Linked DNA regions of Homo sapiens: all the other regions are linked to region 1. The links are contacts of gene promoters, found by promoter capture Hi-C in blood cells and fetal thymus (Javierre and others, 2016). All regions are on one chromosome and are shown on one strand. The core of a region is centred on a gene start or on the middle of the fragment in contact, and the rest is flanking DNA. Distances in the headings are between cores, read along the strand shown.

Region 1 (3,142 bases), core at 406-2,905:
AGTAGAAACTTAGTTAAAAGTGGTAACATCTGAAGATCGAATGTGAACAAAAGGGGGCTGAAAGAAAGAGCCAAGAGCCTGGTATGAATGTGATCAGCTGGGAGGGGGCACATTTTGGGTAGGCAGGGTCGCTCTGGCCTCAGGCTAGTGGAGTCCTTGACTCTCTTTTGCTCAGGTTCCATAGTCAGTTGGCATTTTCTGATAACCACTCTGCCTTTCCGTGTATGTGGACACCAGGGCCAGATGTCCCAAGCACCAGATATGTCTTCATGGAAAAGGAATGTTCCAATATATAAAGTAAGAAAATTACATTCTAGATAATACATCTATCTCTGTGAGCCTGACCAGGTGAGGATAATAAGTTGAGTTTCTGTGTGCAGCCCCTGGACCAGAGAGACATCCCTCCCTCCCTCCTTGGAGAACCTTCCTGAATGTTGTAGGCTTCTCTAGGAATATCTCTCTCACTGGTGAGTAAAAGACCATTTCTTGAAGGAAAACAGAAGCTACAGTGAGGTTTCTTTCCCTTAACAAATCTGGCAGCCCAGACAAAAATGGTAATGAGTCCTCAATGAAGAAATACCCCAAATCATTAGGGAAAGATATGTTTTCTGTCCACTAATCCAAGGATTGGCAAACGTCTTCTGTCAAGAACGAGACAGTAAATATTTCAGGCTTTGGGAGCCATGCGGTCTCTGCCACAGCTATTCAACTTAGCTATTGTAGTGCAAAAGTAGCCACAACAATATTAAAATGACAGGGTGTGACTATGTCTCAATAAAATTTTATTTACAAAACAGGTTGTGAGCTGAATTAGGCCCCTGAGCTATAGTCTGCCCTTTCTCTAATTTTTCACAAAGAAGGTTCTGAGTAGCTCTTTTATATATAAGGAATGTGAGGCTATGAAATGAAAAACTTTTTTTTTTTTTTTTTTTTTGAGACAGAGTCCTACTCTGTCCCAGGCTGGAATGCAACAGTGCAATCTCAGCTTACTACAACCTCCACCTCCCCGGTTCAAGCGATTCTCCTGCCTCAGCCTCCTGAGTAGCTGGGATTACAGGTGCGTGCCACCACTCCTGACTCATTTTTTGTATTTTTAGTAGAGACAGGGTTTCACCATGTTAGTCAGGCTGGTCTCAAACTCCTGACCTCAAATGATCTGCCTGCCTCGGCCTCTCAAAGTGCTGGAATTACAGGCGTGAGCCACGACACCCAGTGAAAAACATCTTTTAAAAGACATTTATTCAACATCATGATCAGACTATGACATTTGGCAATCAACAGGATGAGTGCAAAGGAAAAAAAAAACACATTAAAACTCTTTGTTAAGACTGCTTTACACTTTCCACAGAACAGAAACTAAACTAACCTGTTATACAATTAGTCACAAATACGGTCCTTGAGTTTTTTACCCATACACCTGAGTATTGTCTAAAACATATCTTCTTTGTAGCAGCTAGGCCCTGCTACCAACTGTGCTTGGCTGAGTTCACAAATCTGTTGTAACCTGTAGTTTCCCTGTCACTTCTCTGGCTCTCCTCTCCTGCTAAGCTTTGTTTCCTGGCATTAATTAAAACCTTCTGCCACTGCCATAACTACTGCTGCTACTGGAACTGCCTGTCAACCTAAAAAGAAACTCAGAAAGACAGGCTCTTTAGAACAAACAAGTTTATCTAGGAATAGCAGAGGGATTGCAATTGCAGGGTATGCAAGCTATGACGGGCCATTAATGTATCCAGGGGAGTTGGGGAAAGGGAAAGCTTTTAAAGACAAAGAGAAATCCATGAAATAAAGCTTGAAATAAAGCTCACGGGTCACAGAAGCTCAGTGCAGGAGTTGGCGTTTATTCATTGGTGGAGATGGCTGTTGCTGAGTAACTGTCCTGGTGCTGGCAGCTTGTCTGAAATACTGCAGGCCTGAAAAATTCCTGTGATAAGCTCTGTTGCAGGGTGAGTGCAGAAGTGGGGCATGTGGGACCTGCAGGAATTTCTTGTGATAAGGTATATTATAGGCATGTGCGGTGAGAACTTTTTTAGGGCCTCCTGACTCCACTTTGTTAGGGTTTTGACATAAGTGACTCCATTCTGGTACTGGCAACTTTCACATGCCTTAGCCACCTTGATTTGATGTTTTGGCAACATAGTAGCCTCAGCCACCACAGGGGCCAGAGTTTCTTTCTTTCTTTTTTTTTTAGGTGCCAGAGTTTCTGTCTCCAAAGTTTCTTCTCTTCATGGGTTCAAAATTGATTGAAGATTGGTTGTTGTAATTACCAAAATCGTTGTAGTTCCCACCATCTCCAAAACTGCTTCCATCATTTAAGTACTAAATCCATTATAGCCATCCCTGCTGCCCCCATATCCACCAATACAGCTGCCTCCAAAGCTACCATTACCAGTGAAATTTTTCCTTGATGACCAAAGTTGTTACTCCCACCAAAACCACCTCCATGACCACCACCAAAGTTTCCAGAACCACTCTGACCTCTCTGGCTGGCTGAAGTACTAACCATTTCTTTCTTCAACATGGTTTTCCATACTTCATGGTAGTGGCTATGTACTTTACGGTATTTCTGAGAGACAATCTTATTCGCAGAGTCATGGCTGTCCTCAAAGGTTAAAAAAGTAAAGCTCTTCTTTTTGCCATTGCCTCACTCAGTCATGATTTCAACCACTCCTATTTTCTCATACCTTCACAATAATCTCTTAGGTGATGTTCTTCAGTGTCTTCTGTGATGCCACCAACAAAGATCTTTTTTACAGTTAACCAGGCACCTGGTCTTTGAGAATCTTTTCTTGACATCCCTCTTTGGTTTCACAACTCTTTCATCTGCCTTGTGTCGCCTTGATTTACGGCTGCATCCATCTCCTCCACAGTGCCATCTGTGAAAAACCAAAGGCCCTGGAATGCTTGGTGTTTGGGTCTCTCATTGCTATATAATCCATGAGCTTTCCTCACTACTCAGAATGGCTCCCCAGACTCTTATTGGTTGTTTCAAAGCTCAATCGTCTGATGAAGAGCTTCTGTAGCTATTCGGGCTATTTAAGAGACTCTGACTTAGATATGTTGGTAGTGGGAAGAAAGACTTGAACGATGCATCCTTAGTGGCATCCATGGGCAAAAGTAGTAAGCTTATGACGTATCTCTG
Region 2 (3,142 bases), core at 389-2,888, 340 kb after region 1:
GGTTGTAGCCCAAGAAGCAGCCTGCTCTTTCTCGTTCTCTCTCTTTCTTCCTTCTCTCTTTCATTCCTTTTCTCTCTTTCTCACTTCCCTCCCTCCCTTCCTCCCTTCCTTCCTTGGGTCTCGCTCTGTCGCCCAAGCTGGAGTACACTGCCCCAATCATAGCTCACTGCAGCCTCGACCTCCCCGGCCCAAGCGATCCTTCCGCCTCTGCCTCCACAGTAGCTAGGACTACAGGCGTGCACCACCAAGCTCAGCTAATGCTCTTTCTGGTCTGAGTTTTGACCCTCATCCTAACCTGTTGTTCTTTGAGTACACTCTGGGCCTTGATGCGTTGGGTCATTCCTGCTTTCCCAGGTGGTAACCGTTCCTGGGCAGGGATTTTAGTTTTCCTTGGAATCTTGCCCTCCTCACTATCCTGCCCACAACCTTCTACCCCTAGCTTCTGGGATCTCAGCTAGGAGCCATGCTATCCCCAACTCTCCCTCTACAGGGACGTGGGACGGGAGAGCTTTTATGAAGCACAGTAGTGAAAAGACCAAAAGATTTGGATTCAGTGGCTATTCCAGTTACTGACTCTATTTCCTTGGGCAACTCAAATCAATGCATGGCAGCCAGTGTGTTATGAGCTACCGGAAGTATACAGAAAAGTACCAGAAAAAATACAAGCATTATCATCAGTCGCTGTCAATTAAATAACTCTGTTACATTTCAACAGTGTTCGTAACCACTTGACATTGATGTATTTGTGTAATTTCTATTATCTGTTTTTCCCACAAAGCTGTAGCTCCATCCAAAGTGGGCAACTGAGTGTCTTGGTCAGTCATGTGCAGCCTGATGACCCTTGAACAGTTGCAAAAGTGCGCCTAGGGCTTGTAGCATTTACTTAAAAGGGGATAATAAACTCTCACGGCCAGTGCTGGGCTTATTGCCTTGTTTGGGAATTTCTCCATTCAAGGGTTTTATGTTTGGGGATGTGCTGGCCCTATTTTTTTGTTTGTTTGTTTTTTGAGACGGAGTCTGGCTCTGTCTCCCAGGCTGGAGTGCAGTGGCACGATCTCGGCTCACTGCAACCTCCGCCTCCCAGGTTCAAACGATTCTCCTGCCTCAGCCGCCGAAGTAGCTGCGATTACAGGCGCCGCGCCACCACACCCAGCTACTTTTTTTTTATTTTTAGTAGACACGGGGTTTCACCGTGTTAGCCACCGATCTCCTGACCTCGTGATCCGCCCACCTCGGCTTCCCAAAGTTCTGGGATTACAGGCGTGAGCCACCGCGCCAGGCCGCTGGCTCTATTTTCACCGCTAGCTTTGGATCCCTTTCTTCCCTGAAGGAAAAGAGGCCTCCAGGGCAGCCGTGCAGAACCGATGGGAGGGATGTAGGATAATACGCCAAAGCCGATAGAGTTCTGGAGCGCGCCTGGGCATCAGAGCGTGGAAGACAAGTGTCCGCGGAAGGAGGCGAAGGATGCTGGACAAGCCCCGCCGCCCGCCGCCCGCCGCCCGCCGCCCGCCGCCCGCCGCCCGCCGCCAGCGGCCCTGGGCCCAGGGAGAAGCAGAGATGTTGGCCCTCCCAGTTTCCTAGAGAGGCCGCAGAGGGCCCGGGGAGGCGACGCGCGTGCGCAACTGGGGAAGCTGGGAGGTAGGCGCGGGGCGGTCGGCTGCGGTGGCGGCGTTTGGATGATTGTCTCTCGGCGGCGGAGTCGGTGAGCGGCCCGGCGGGGCGCGGGGTGCGGAGCGGGGGCGGCTGTGCGTGCGAGAGTGGCAGGTGAGGCCGGGCCTGGAGGCTGCACCCGGGGCGGGGGTCTGGCCGTGGATCCCGCCCGGCCGCGCCGAGGGCATACCTCTTCGCCCCCCGGGCGTCTGGGGCAGAGAATCTGGAAAATTCCCGGTTTCTTCTGGCTTTATCTTTTCACCCAATTATGCGAATAAAGCGTACTTATTAGAGACAATTAGATAAGTGGAAGAAAAGTGAAAGTAGCCACCGTCCGGAAATCTTAGTCTCCAGGTCTCCTGACATTGAAAACATCTGGCATAGACTTCTCCCTTTTTCTTGTCTTATTTCACTTCCTGGCACCTGTCGCCGTCTAACATAGCATGTATTTGTTTATTGGTTATCTTCCCATAAGCCCCTTGCCAGGGCAGTGCTTTCTGTTTGCTTTATTAACTGCTGTTACCTTAGTGTATGGGAAATAGTAGGTGCTCCTAGAAGGTGTTTGTTAAATTAATGAAAGAAGGAATATCTAAACTGGGAGACAAGAAGAATTGACAGTTTTTAATGTCTTTTTTTTTTTTTTAAATAGCCCATTGCCAAGTTAAGAATGTAAGAGTGACCTTGAGCCTGGAACATTTCCTTGCAGAGTTAGAGCCCTCACAGCCTGTGCTGCTGCATTTAATGCCTTGTGTCTTTCAGTGTTTCAGGCTTCATGTGTACTCCTTTGTTGTGTTTAATCTCTTAAGTCAGTGGCCTTCATTCATTCTCTCAGCCTTCTGTATTTCACACCCCATAGGAGTGGGGAGGGTGGATTGAGATCTTTCTTCCTTACTAAGTGGGGTGTGTGCATCACACCAGCCCTATAGCTGTGGAGTGGATCTGCTGGGTGTGGGGGCTCTTTGCATTGCAGGAGGCTGGATCTTGTTCCCTGTTTCTCCTTTTGCTGTAAGTATACGCTGTACCTCTTGGGGCCTGATGTGGTTGGTATCTGTCCTCAGCGACCTCAAATCATGTGCTATCCCTTCCTTGGATGGCCTTTTAATCTTGGCAGCACAGCCTGGCCACCTGGTGAATAGTGGAACAGTCATGGTGATGCATAAGGATCTAGTATGTTCCTTTTAGGTGCTGTATGGTATTTCATCCTATAAAAATGCTACTTTTATTTAGCCATATTGATGGACAAGTAGGTTAAATCCAGTATTATGTTATTACAGAGAATATTTTAGTAAATACCTGTGTAAATGTCTGAATACCCGTGCAAGTGTTTTTCAGGGCAGATTCTTACAAGTTAAATTCCTGTAGCGTAAGGAATATGTCTTTTTAGTTTTACTGTGGACTTTCAAACTATCCTTCCTGTTGGCTATTACATTTCCACATCTATTAGTGGTTTGTGTTTGGTGTTTTTTTCTTTTGCTTTTCTTTTGGACAGAGA
Region 3 (3,142 bases), core at 209-2,708, 260 kb after region 1:
ACTACATCACCCTTATTCCCATCTGAAACAAAACTCTACTCCTCAAGGTCCAGAGGCCCCCTGCCCACTTCAGTGCTTTTCTCCTGTTTGATAAATACCACTGAGAGAAGCTCCCTTTCAACCCTGGTGCCCACAAGCAGGATTCCTGTGCCCAGACTAACTTCACAATCTAGGCCTCACCTGCCCAGGAGAGAATGGAATGACTCACCCATATTCCTGTGCACAGCAGCCTCAATCCAAAGGATCTGCACAGCACAGATCTTGCCTGATCTCCTCCTTGAGTTCAGTGAAGAAGTTCCTAAGAGGGTCTTGAGTCACTGTAAACAGATATAAATGACTGAGTTCTCTGAGCCCTGAATTCCAAGTGGACACTCAGGGCAGTGTCCCATCTTTGGGTAACTTCCCTTCCTATAGAACTGTGGGCAGTAAGAAGGATCATTTCCAGTGTAAAGATGAGGGAATGAAGCTCCCAGGGATTGAACGACTTGCCCAAGGTCCTATAGCTAGTGAGTGATTAAAAAGCCTTCTGTGTCTTCAGGAAATCCTAATTCCATCACACCACAGCCTCCCCTTTTCACCTGCTCCATTGATATCTAAAAGCTTCCATATTCTCATCTAACTGCAAAATACAATGCAGTGGAGAACTTCCTTGCAATCCAGCTTTCCACAGAAAGTCTGCACAAGGGGGATGAGAGGGAGAACTTTGCTGAGTCAAGTGTCTTTAGGAAGACAGAAAGAAACAAGTCTTTAAAAGAGCACTAGAAAAAGAATGTTCCTTTTTTCTGTTTACCCATTTCTTAGGATTACTAAGCCTCAAATATGTTTTGTGTTTCCCCCTCCAGATCCCCAGGCTCTGCTTCTAACCCTTGAAGTTTGTTTCATTTCTCCCCTACTAGAATTTAGTTCTGTCCTGTACACAACCATAACCCCAGGACCTAGCACACTACTGGGTTAGTGCTCAATAAATATTTGTTGAATGAATCAATGAATGAATGAGTAACCTTGGGCAAGACTCCGTCCTCTTCTCTGGGCCCCAGGTTCCTCACTGGTAACGGGAGGGATATTGGACTGGTGATTTGAGTCAAATACTCAGGGGCTGTGGAGTCCTGAGAGCCTAGGCGGGACTCGACCGCTACTACCCGGAAGGCCCACTGCCTAGGAGCGGGGACGACACAGTGCTGTCACCACGGCCAGCCTGGTCCAAGCGAGCAGCTACGAGGAGTCAGAGACTGGACCCAAGACAAAGGGGCAGCACTGAACGAGAGAAAGGGGAGGCCCACAACGACCCCTTGGCTGCCGCGCCCATCTCAGCAGCGGGCAGCCGCAGAGGAGCCCTGGCCTCCTGGCTTGCGTCTCCCACACGCTCCCAGAACCCGGCCCGACCCCCCACGCCAGACTGTAGAGCACCCCTCACCGAAAGCGCCAGACCCACATCTTGAACAAAGCGCAGAAGGAACTGCGTCAGCAACTCCCAGCTAACTCCCAGCCTGTCCCTCCGGCCCTTCTAGGCTTCGTGAGGTTTCCACATCTCTGTGCCCGCGGGCTGGAGTCCCCCCGCCCCTCAGAAGCCCCGCGCGGTCGGCCGACGCTCTGGCCCTGCCTCCCTTCCGGGCTTTGCCCTATCATTGGATGGAAGGGCTTGGCGACTTCAGCCAATGTGAGGAGGGCCCTGGAAGTGGTGGAAGCTGGGCAGGGGGCTTGGTTAGGGCGGAAAGAGACCGAGCATCTGGGTGGCCAGGCTGCCAGCCTCAGGCTGAGACTCCCTAAAGTTACACCCCCAGCTCCGGTTGCTGAGCAGAGAGGTCATCTTTCCTTCCACAGATCTGGGTCATTCAGCCTCAAAGCCAGGATCAGCTATGGTTTATTGGCAGCATATGAAAAGACGTTTTGGGTGCCTACTATGTCACTCACTGTTCCAGGCGCTGCGGATACAGTAGTGAAGAAAATGAACTCTCTGCCCCATTGAGTTTACATTCAAGTCAAGGAGACAATGATAAATAAATATGTAGAACGTAGCAGTAAGGGGAGAGAGGGAGTAAGGGGAGAGAGGGAGATAGTGGTGGGACTATTTTACAGATGACAGGGAGGGCAGAGACAGGAAGTGGGCAATTGAAGCATGTGGCTATCTGGGGAAAGAGTATTCCCATAGTGGGCCATTAGGAGCAAAATTCTTTAATCAGGAGTGGGGTGGAGAGGTGCACATTTAGGATCTTGTAGACTATGATAAGGGCTTTGGATTTGCTCTGCATAACAGCTGGAGGGCTTGGGGACAGAGGAACGACATGATCTAACTTTTTTTCCCTTACCACATATTCAAAGACTTGTTAGCTATGAGACATGAAAGAAGCCAAGAAGCCTGTTACTATAAATTCTGTGAATTCTTTGCTGTCTGTCCTTAGCCATTCTAACATAAACCTTGCATGAATTTTGCTCTTTGACTTATATTTTTAGTTTGCTTTGGCTGTCTTGTTGAGAACGGTCTGAAGGTGGGTAAGAGTAGAATCAGGGAGATTAAGAGGCCATTACAATATTCCAGATGAGGACTGATAGTGGCTTGGACAGGCTTAGAAGTGATGCAGGTAGTGAGAAATGGTTCTGCATATATTTTGAAGGCATGGCCTGCATGATTTGCTAATGAATTGAATGTTGGTTACTGATGACTCCATGGTTATTGATCTGAGCAACTAGCATGGGATGGTCTTTTAGAAATCGAGTAGCTTGAAAGGAACAGGTTTAGGGAGAGGGATTAATAGTTTTGTTTTGGATGTGTTAAAGATGCCAATTAAACATCCAAGATGAAATGCCAAACAGGCAGTTGGAATAGGAGTCTGGACTTCCGTGAAGAGATCACAGCTAAAGACATAAATTTGGAAGTTGTCAGGACAGGATGAGACAATCTAGGGAATGATTTATCTAAGAAGGAGTCTGAGAATCAAGCTTTTGAAGTACTTCGTCAATTGACAAATATTCAGTATTTAATATTGTTGAGTACTTAAAGTATACCAGGAGCTTTCTTCTCCATTGGCTCATGTAGGTGGCACAACTCCGCCACATTGTATAGAGATTGAAAAAGAGATTCAGACAAAAGTCCTCCACAAGTTCACACCCTCAGTTGATGTGGGACGTAGAACTCGGGACACTC

The links. The method cuts DNA at HindIII sites, captures the fragments that hold promoters and counts their contacts. A CHiCAGO score of 5 or more calls a contact.
Region 2: a contact is called between the fragment with the promoter of ZNF852 here and a fragment that was not itself captured in region 1, in 5 of 17 cell types (naive CD8 T cells, fetal thymus, total CD8 T cells and 2 more). The highest score is 7.5, in naive CD8 T cells.
Region 3: a contact is called between the fragment with the promoter of ZNF660 here and a fragment that was not itself captured in region 1, in 1 of 17 cell types (naive B cells). The highest score is 5.1, in naive B cells.

Annotation. Positions count from the first base shown.
Region 1 is chr3:44,844,564-44,847,705 of GRCh38, reverse strand. The region is part of intron 30 of KIF15 (kinesin family member 15); the gene reads right to left. It also overlaps the pseudogene HNRNPA1P77. Among named protein-coding and RNA genes, the nearest start is that of MIR564, 16 kb to the left of the region's middle. The HindIII fragment of the contact is 209 bases long and covers 1,551-1,759 here.
Region 2 is chr3:44,509,113-44,512,254 of GRCh38, reverse strand. ZNF852 (zinc finger protein 852) reads left to right here and starts at 1,638. Exons shown (of 4, transcript NM_001423469.1): 1 at 1,638-1,702. RefSeq lists enhancers at 1,184-1,243, 702-1,478, 1,479-2,255 and silencers at 1,464-1,513, 1,644-1,703, 1,714-1,873. The HindIII fragment of the contact is 19,774 bases long and covers 1-3,142 here.
Region 3 is chr3:44,583,280-44,586,421 of GRCh38, reverse strand. It overlaps ZNF660 (zinc finger protein 660), which reads right to left and starts at 1,458. Exons shown (of 3, transcript NM_173658.4): 1 at 1,415-1,458; 2 at 209-317. It overlaps ZNF660-ZNF197 (ZNF660-ZNF197 readthrough), which reads right to left and starts at 1,458. Exons shown (of 8, transcript NR_147692.2): 1 at 1,415-1,458; 2 at 209-317. All of the region lies in intron 2 of ZKSCAN7-AS1 (ZKSCAN7 ZNF cluster antisense RNA 1), which reads left to right. It also overlaps a transcript of ZKSCAN7 not described here. The HindIII fragment of the contact is 2,337 bases long and covers 603-2,939 here.